Linked DNA regions of Homo sapiens: region 1 is linked to region 2. The links are contacts of gene promoters, found by promoter capture Hi-C in human tissues and cell types (Jung and others, 2019). All regions are on one chromosome and are shown on one strand. The core of a region is centred on a gene start or on the middle of the fragment in contact, and the rest is flanking DNA. Distances in the headings are between cores, read along the strand shown. Region 1 holds the start of PPIA (peptidylprolyl isomerase A). Region 2 holds the start of YKT6 (YKT6 vesicular SNARE protein).

Evidence for each region. Contacts are between HindIII fragments. The study calls those that stand out against the background at their distance.
Region 1: the fragment with the promoter of PPIA here is called in contact with the fragment with the promoter of YKT6 in region 2 in 1 of the 25 tissues and cell types used here (spleen).

Annotation. Positions count from the first base shown.
Region 1 is chr7:44,794,788-44,799,063 of GRCh38, forward strand. PPIA (peptidylprolyl isomerase A) reads left to right here and starts at 1,894. Exons shown (of 5, transcript NM_021130.5): 1 at 1,894-2,006. The coding sequence starts at 1,938. It overlaps LOC105375259 (a long non-coding RNA gene), which reads right to left and starts at 1,743. Exons shown (of 2, transcript XR_007060300.1): 1 at 1,281-1,743; 2 at 329-637. RefSeq lists silencers at 1,435-1,634, 1,725-1,994, 2,015-2,364. The HindIII fragment of the contact is 11,905 bases long and covers 1-4,276 here.
Region 2 is chr7:44,198,094-44,202,646 of GRCh38, forward strand. YKT6 (YKT6 vesicular SNARE protein) reads left to right here and starts at 2,885. Exons shown (of 7, transcript NM_006555.4): 1 at 2,885-3,146. The coding sequence starts at 3,043. RefSeq lists a silencer at 2,992-3,061. The HindIII fragment of the contact is 4,070 bases long and covers 2,405-4,553 here.

The DNA.
Region 1 (4,276 bases), core at 644-3,143, 600 kb after region 2:
GGAGTTTGAGACCAGCCTGGGCGATGTGGCGAAACCCCATCTTTACAAAACACACACACACAAAATGAGCTGGGTGTGGGTGCATGCCTGTAGTCCCAGCTACTTGGGAGGCTAAGGTGGGACGCTTGCTCGAGCACGGGAAGGGGAGGTTGCAGTGAGCCGATAACACACCACTGCACTTCCAGCCTAGGTGAGAGTGAGACCTTGTCTCAAAAAAACAAAAAGAAACATTAAATAATATCCTTAATATTGCAACTTAAGTGACAGCCCAGGATATATGAATTCCCTTGTAAGGTTTTCTTAACAAAACACCAGTCACATAAGTGCATTTTATTTTATATTTTTGTTTATTTATTTGAGACGGAGTCTCTGTCTCTCAGGCTGGAGTGCAGTGGCGCCATCTCTGCTCGCTGCAACCTCCACCTCCTGGGTTCCAGCGATTCTCCTGCCTCAGCCTCCCGAGGGGGTAGCTGGGACTACAGGTGCGCACCACCATGCCCAGCTAATTTTGTATTTTTCGTAGAGATGGGGTTTCACCATGTTGTCCAGGCTGGTCTTGAACTCCTGACCTCAGGTGATCCTCCCGCCTCGGCCTCCCAAAGTGCTGGAATTACAGGCGTGATCCACCGCACCCGGCCTATTTTTTGAGAGAGGGTCACACTCTGTCGTCCCGGCTGGAATGCAGTGATGCGATCACCGCCCACTACAGCCTCGACCTCCGGGCTCAAGCAATCCTCCCCGCCCAGCCTCCTGAGTAGCGAGCGCCTCGACGCCCAGCTAATTTTTATTTTTATTTATTTTTTTGTAGAGACGGCGTCTCTCTAAGATGCCCAGGCTGGTGGCCGGTGTCGAACTCCTAAGATGAAGCGATCCTCCCCGGCCTTGGCCTCCGCGCCTCCTAAAGCGCCAGGTATGAGCCACCGCGCCTGGCCTACAAGTGCATTTTAATTAAAGTATTATTAATGTCTTTGCCTGAAGAAATTCGCTTTTAAATTGTGACTTATCTTTCACCCAAAAATCAAAGCACAATTCAGCCCCGAGGCGGGGGCGGTAGGAGCTGGGCGGGGCGGGGGCAGGGAAAGACCAGGAGCAGAGATTCAAAAAGAGTAAGAGGGCAAAATGTGCATAATGCATCTTCACAGGTAAGAGCCTGGCCAGGCTCCTGTTTTAATGGCTTCCTCCTGAAGAAGATTCAAGCAGAGTGTAAGATATTTTCGGAAAGTAGAGCATTTTGAAAGCATTTCATAATCTCTCAAAACCGGAGACTGCTCCTGTCCCACCTCGTTAGAGAAAACAGCGATGCTCAAAGGCAACCTCCTTCCTGACATTGCCTGGTAGGACGCGACGTGGTGTTTGCCCGCGCGGAATGCGGACGCAAGGCTGCTCCTAGGTCTCGGGGACGCGCCATCCCCATTTCCGCTCGCGGAGGCGTAGGGTCCGGGCGCGGGACCCCAGTCGACCTTGACTGGCGGCGCGACCTTGAGGCCTGCGTTCGCCTCAGTTGCCCCCTCTGTGCAATGGGGAGACGCGCCTCATCGCTTGACAACGGCCGAAGAGCCGCCGCGCTTCCGTCTCCCGCGTGCGCGCGCCATGCTGCCCACCCCCGTTCCGCACTGACCCTCCCCCGTGCCCCGCGTCCCGTACTGCCGCCCCGCCCCGAGTCCCATGCCGCAGCCACCGCGACGGAGCCCGCAGGCGGGAACCTGCCTCCGCGCGTTAGCGCGCACGCGCGCCTCATGTGTCGTCCCCATCAGCGCCGGCTTCCGTCTATAGGCCAGATGCACTGTCACTCTGGCGAAGTCGCAGACCCGATTGGCCGGGACGGAGGCGCGAGACCGGGTTGCGGGCGGGGCCGAACGTGGTATAAAAGGGGCGGGAGGCCAGGCTCGTGCCGTTTTGCAGACGCCACCGCCGAGGAAAACCGTGTACTATTAGCCATGGTCAACCCCACCGTGTTCTTCGACATTGCCGTCGACGGCGAGCCCTTGGGCCGCGTCTCCTTTGAGGTCGGGCGGGCGGCGGCGTGCGGGAATGGGGCCCAGAAAGTGGGCCGGGGTCGGGGTGGGTGGTAGCGCCCCAAAGGCCCGGGCGCGGGGCGACCCTGCTTGAGGGGCGAGCGCGGGCGGGCTGCGGCGCCATTTCCTGACGAGGGGCCATTTTGGGAGGTCCGCGAGTCGCGGGGAGGAGGCCGGGACGGCGGCGGACAAAGGCAGGCGGGGCGGCTGCGAGGCCGTTGGGGGAGGGGGCCCGCGTCCGCCCGCCCGCCTCATGTGGCCGCGCCCTGTCCTGTCCGACGCACGTGCTCGGCGGCCGCGCTCAGGTCCGCGCCTTGAGAGTCGTTGGGCTCCGCCCTAGCTTGGCCTGGGCGCCGCAGACCGGAGCCAGAAGCACGCTCGCGGGGGCTTGCGACCGCCTTCCTGGGAAGCTGTCCCCTGGCAGGCATGGGTGCTTTACATCCTGAGCTGGGAAGCTGTTTGCTTGAGGGTTTTTCTCAAGGATCGAGGCGCGGTGTGAGCCCGTCCATGCTCGGTCCTGTAGATCCCGGGAGGCCATGTTATAAAAGGAGACTTGCTGGGATGTGACGGGTTGCCACTTGAAATATCTTCCATTTGGATAAAGTAGGAATATTTATACATGTGCCCCAAACGTCCCTCCGTGTCCCCCACCCCCAAGCGGAAATGTGAAAATGGGCCTTGCCTTTGCTGGTGCCCAAGGACCGCCTTCCACTGCAGTGACGGCGCTGGCGGGGGAGGCGCTCTTGAGCCCCTCCCGATTGTCCCTCTGCCTAGCAAGCAAGTTGCGACTGGCCACAAGGCAGGCCTCTTCCGACCAAGGTGGATTACCAGTGATTACCTAATTAGTTTTGAGAGCGTTAAATGAGTTCTTAAAGATCAGTTGTAATTATAGCATAGTATCTAAACTTGGCGCGTGTCTTCAAAGTTAAATATTGAGTACGATTCCGTTCCAGTTAACATGGATAGACCTTAGGGAGTAGCGAAATAGGATGTTAGTGGTTTTATTCCTTTAAATCACATCTCAAAAGGCCACCAATGGCTAGTTTGGGATCTTATTCCGAAAATAGATTGATCCTCATGCAGTCTTCGTGAGGACAGAGCGATTTCCTTGTTGCCTACCCTGTCCATAGTGCCTGGCACATAGGCACTGAAACACTGCATGTTAATCCACACCCCACCCCACCTATGAGTGTAGTCAAAGCTGGTAAGTGACAAGGGCTTTCGTGGAAACTTGGCCTGACCTAATGTTGGGCATCAGGTTACCCAAAGAGCTTCAGGGAAATGAGAAAGGACTTGCAGGTCTTGATGAGAATGGAGGGGTAACTGCCAATGAGGGCTTTGGCTTTAGCGAAAGTCTGAAAGGGAAGCCATAGGAACTTAAACGTACCGACTATAAAGCTCTGAGAAAAGCTGATGTTTTAGAAAGACCATACATTCTAGGTACAAATACCTAAAAACTAAAAAATAAGTACGTTGGCCAGGCGGGCGGATCACGAAGTCAGGAGATTGAGACCGTCCTGGCCAACATGGTGAAACCCCACCTCTATTAAAAATACAAAAATTAGCTGGGCGTGGTGGCGCTTGCCTGTAATCTCAGCTACTCTAGAGGCTGAGGCAGGAGAATCGCTTGAACCCCGGAGGCGGAGGCTGCAGTGAGCCGAGATCGTGCCACTGCACTCCAGCCTGGTGACAGTGAGACTCTTGTCTCAAAAAAAAAAAAGTACATTGCTATAAGAGAAGTGCACACGGATACTAGTAGTTAATTCAGTCACATCTGTGAAATAGCTTATAAAATGCTACTTTTAAACAAGCTGTTTTTATGAAAGGGCTTGTAAATGTTTATGGTATTTAAGCTACCTCTCTAGCCATAACGTATTATACATTCAAGAAAGGTTCAAAACCAGATATACTAGAAACCAATCTTTATTTTTTACCCCACTACTAGGTAAGGGGCCTGGATACCAAGAAGTGACTGCTCATCTAATCCATAAAGCTATGTTAACAGATTGGAGGTAGTAGCATTTTCATTACAAGTGACTAAAAGAACAGCTGTTTACCCCTGATCGTGCAGCAGTGCTTGCTGTTCCTTAGAATTTTGCCTTGTAAGTTCTAGCTCAAGTTGGGGGGTGGTGATAGACATTTAAGAAGCCATATATCTTTTCAGAAGTAGGTGTGATGTACTAAAAGTTTGAGACACTTTCTAGAAGTCTCACTATTTAAGTTATGACTAGTATTGGATTTTTGGCATGTCTTTGGGTTTC
Region 2 (4,553 bases), core at 1,635-4,134:
CTCAGGGAGCTGTGCCTCACTCATTCCTATCCATAGACTTGCCTTCTTTCAACAACGCAAGCAAAAAGAAGGGTTCATTTGGGTTGGTTCCAAGTCTTTGCTATTGTGAACAGTGCCACAATAAACATACGTGTGCATGTGTCCTTATAGCAGCATGATTTATAATCCTTTGGGTATATACCTAGTAATGGGATGGCTGGGTCAAATGGTATTTCCAGTTCTAGATCCCTGAGGAATCGCCACACTGACTTCCACAATGGTTGAACTAGTTTACAGTCCCACGAACAGTGTAAAAGTGTTCCTATTTCTCCACATCCTCTCCAGCACCTGTTGTTTCCTGACTTTTTAATGATCACCATTCTAACTGGTGTGAGATGGTATCTCATTGTGGTTTTGATTTGCATTTCTCTGATGGCCAGTGATGATGAGCATTTTTTCATGTGTTTTTTGGCTACATAAATGTCTTCTTTTGAGAAGTGTCTGTTCATATCCTTCGCCCATTTGTTGATGGGGTTGTTTGTTTTTTTCTTGTAAATTTGTTTGAGTTCATTGTAGATTCTGGATATTAGCCCTTTGTCAGATGAGTAGGTTGCAAAAATTTTCTCCCATTCTGTAGGTTGCCTGTTCACTCTGATGGTAGTTTCTTTTGCTGTGCAGAAGCTCTTTAGTTTAATTAGATCCCATTTGTCAATTTTGGCTTTTGTTGCCATTGCTTTTGGTGTTTTAGACATGAAGTCCTTGCCCATGCCTATGTCCTGAATGGTATTGCCTAGGTTTTCTTCTAGGGTTTTTATGGTTTTAGGTCTAACATGTAAGTCTTTAATCCATCTTGAATTAATTTTTGTATAAGGTGTAAGGAAGGGATCCAGTTTCAGCTTTCTACATATGGCTAGCCAGTTTTCCCAGCACCATTTATTAAATAGGGAATCCTTTCCCCATTGCTTGTTTTTGTCAGGTTTGTCAAAGATCAGATGCTTGTAGATATGCGGCATTATTTCTGAGGGCTCTGTTCTGTTCCATTGCTCTATATCTCTGTTTTGGTACCAGTAGCATGCTGTTTTGGTTACTGTAGCCTTGTAGTATAGTTAGAAGTCAGGTAGTGTGATGCCTCCAGCTTTGTTCTTTTGGCTTAGGATTGACTTGGCAATGCGGGCTCTTTTTTGGTTCCATATGAACTTTAGTTTTTTCCAATTCTGTGAAGAAAGTCATTGGTAGCTTGATAGGGATGGCATTGAATCTATAAATTACCTTGGGCAGTATGGCCATTTTCACGATACTGATTCTTCCTACCCATGAGCATGGAATGTTCTTCCATTTGTTTGTATCCTCTTTTATTTCATTGAGCAGTCGTTTGTAGTTCTCCTTGAAGAGGTCCTTCACATCCCTTGTAAGTTGGATTCCTAGGTATTTTATTCTCTTTGAAGCAATTGTGAATGGGAGTTCACTCATGATTTGGCTCTCTGTCTGTTATTGGTGTATAAGACTGCTTGTGATTTTTGCACATTGATTTTGTATCCTGAGACTTTGCTGAAGTTGCTTATCAGCTTAAGGAGATTTTGGGCTGAGACGATGGGGTTTTCTAGATATACAATCATGTCATCTGCAAACAGGGACAATTTGACTTCCTCTTTTCTTAATTGAATACCCTTTATTTCCTTCTCCTACCTGATTGCCCTGGCCAGAACTTCCAACACTATGTTGAAAAGGAGTGGTGAGAGAGGGCATCCCAGTCTTGTGCCAGTTTTCAAAGGGAATGCTTCCAGTTTTTGTCCATTCAGTATGATATTGGCTGTGGGTTTGTCATAGATAGCTCTTATTATTTTGAGATACGTCCCATCAATACCTAATTTATTGAGAGTTTTTAGCATGAGGGTTGTTGAATTTTGTCAAAGGCCTTTTCTGCATCTATTGAGATAATCATGTGGTTTTTGTCTTTGGTTCTGTTTATATGCTGGATTACGTTTACTGATTTTCGTATGTTGAACCAGCCTTGCATCCCAGGGATGAAGCCCACTTGATCATGGTGGATAAGCTTTTTGATGTGTTGCTGGATTCGGTTTGCCAGTATTTTACTGAGGATTTTTGCTTCAATGTTCATCAAGGATATTGGTCTAAAATTCTTTTTTTGTTGTGTCTCTCTCTGCCACCCTTTGGTATCAGGATGATGCTGGCCTCATAAAATGAGTTAGGGAGGATTCTCTCTTTTTCTTTTGATTGGAATAGTTTCAGAAGGAATGGTACAAGCTCCTCCTAAAATGTGGCACATATACACCATGGAATACTATGCAGCCATAAAAAATGATGAGTTCATGTCCTTTGTAGGGACATGGATGAAGCTGGAAACCATCATTCTCAGCAAACTATTGCAAGGACAAAAAACCAAACACCGCATGTTCTCACTCATAGGTGGGAATTGAACAATAAGAACACATGGACACAGGAAGGCGAACATCACACACCGGGGACTGTTGTGGGGTGGGGGGAGGGGGGAGGGATAGCATTAGGAGATATACTTAATGCTAAATGACGAGTTAATGGGTGCAGCACACCAACATGGCACATGTATACATATGTAACAAACCTGCACGTTGTGCACATGTACCCTAAAACTTAAAGTATAATAATAAAAAAAATGCTTACTTTAAAAAAAGAAAGAAAAGAAAAAAAAAAAAAAGAAGGGTTCAGGCCGCTGTGGGAGGCCCAGCACCACCCAGCACAAGACAGTACGGTATCCCGCCGCGCGCCCGACTCCACCTGGCGAGCAGGGAGGGGCCAAGCTTACGCGAGGCGTGGCATCCCGCCCCTCGCTGCATTGTACTTCCGGGCTCACATTTCTGCATCCGGAGTATGAGAACCCTCAACCAGGCTGACCGGATCCGGAAGTGGATTGCGAGCCAGGAGGAGGAAGCCGGCGGTGGCCCCGTCAGCAGCCGGCTGCTGAGAGGCCGGTAGGCGGCGGCGGTCCCGAGGGGCGGCGGCCGCGCTGCTCCCTGAGAACGGGTCCCGCAGCTGGGCAGGCGGGCGGCCTGAGGGCGCGGAGCCATGAAGCTGTACAGCCTCAGCGTCCTCTACAAAGGCGAGGCCAAGGTGGTGCTGCTCAAAGCCGCATACGATGTGTCTTCCTTCAGCTTTTTCCAGAGATCCAGGTGAGCGGCACAGGCTGGTGGGCCGTGGCGGTCGGGCGGAGAGGACTGGGGTGGGGGTCCGAGTCGGAGTGGGCCTGGGGTCGGCGGAGGGATGAGGGGAGGGTGGAGGAGGCCAAGGGTAGGGGCAGGGCGGGGTGGCCGAGTGCCCGGGGTCTGAGAAGGCTGGTGTCCGAGTCAGAGGCGGGGCGGGGTGGGGAGGGCCCGGGGTCTGCTGTCCGGGCTTGGTCTCCTATAATGGAATCTGGCCGTGGACTCTACCTTTGAGGAACCAACATTAGCTCTTTAAGAGCTTATACCATTCTAGAATATAGTTCTCTACTCAGTGTTTTTCAAATTTCTGTCGTGTAAAAATTTTAAGGAGACTGTGAAGTAGTGCAGATTTCCAAGCTTCATGCCAAGATGTTCTGAATTAGTAGATTGAGGCCTCGGTATTTATATTTTAGACCAACACTTCCCACCCAGTGATTCTGACTCTGGGAGCTTGGGTGCCGCATCTTGAGAGCCATATTTTGATTTTCTTGCGGGGCTTCCCAACAATTCTGTATGAGAGATAGTGATATACTTTTTTTTGTTTGTTTTTAATGGGTGAAGTCACTGAGGTACCAAGAGGTTATATCACAACCAGCTAGAACTGAAAGCCAGGTTTAACGCTTTTTAGTTGGACACTAGTGGTACAAAAGGATTCCACACGGAAGATGCAAATGAAGCATGGGATCTGTAGGGCTTACAGGCTTTTACTTGTTTCTGGGGCGCTTTAATTGCTGGAACGTGTTAGAAGTAACACAGACACTTCCAGACCATTCGTGGGAGGGATTGGGGTGACTCAGGCACGAAAGAAGGAGGACCCTACATGGTCGGTATCTATGGTCATCTTGTCTCAAAATCTGATGGAATCTGCCGTTTGGATTCTGTTTTCCCTGCTTCAGTGCAGCTGGTTCTTGATGAGAGTTCTTTGCCAAGGACTTGCTGGATGTAAAAAAAAAAAAATGTTATTTTGTTGAAACTTTCTGCTTCTTTGAGTTCTTTTAAAAAAATATTTTTAATTGTGGTAAAATGGTACACAAAATTTATCTTCACTATCTTTAAGCGTGTAGTGAGTGCATTGATATGAAATAGATTGATAGTGTTGTGCAGCCATCACTGTCAATCGTCTCCAGAACTCCTTTTTATCAAATTCGTGTCTATTAAACACATTCCCTTCTCCCCCAGCCCATGGCAACTGCCATTCTAATTTGTCTCTGTGATTTTGACTTTTCTGGCGACCTTAGATAAATGGAATCATATAGTTTTTGTGTGTCTGGCTTATTTCATGTAGCATAATGTCCTCAAGGCTCATGCATCTTGTTGCATATATCAGAATTTCTTTCCTTTTTAAGGCTGAATAATCCATTGTATTATTCACCACAT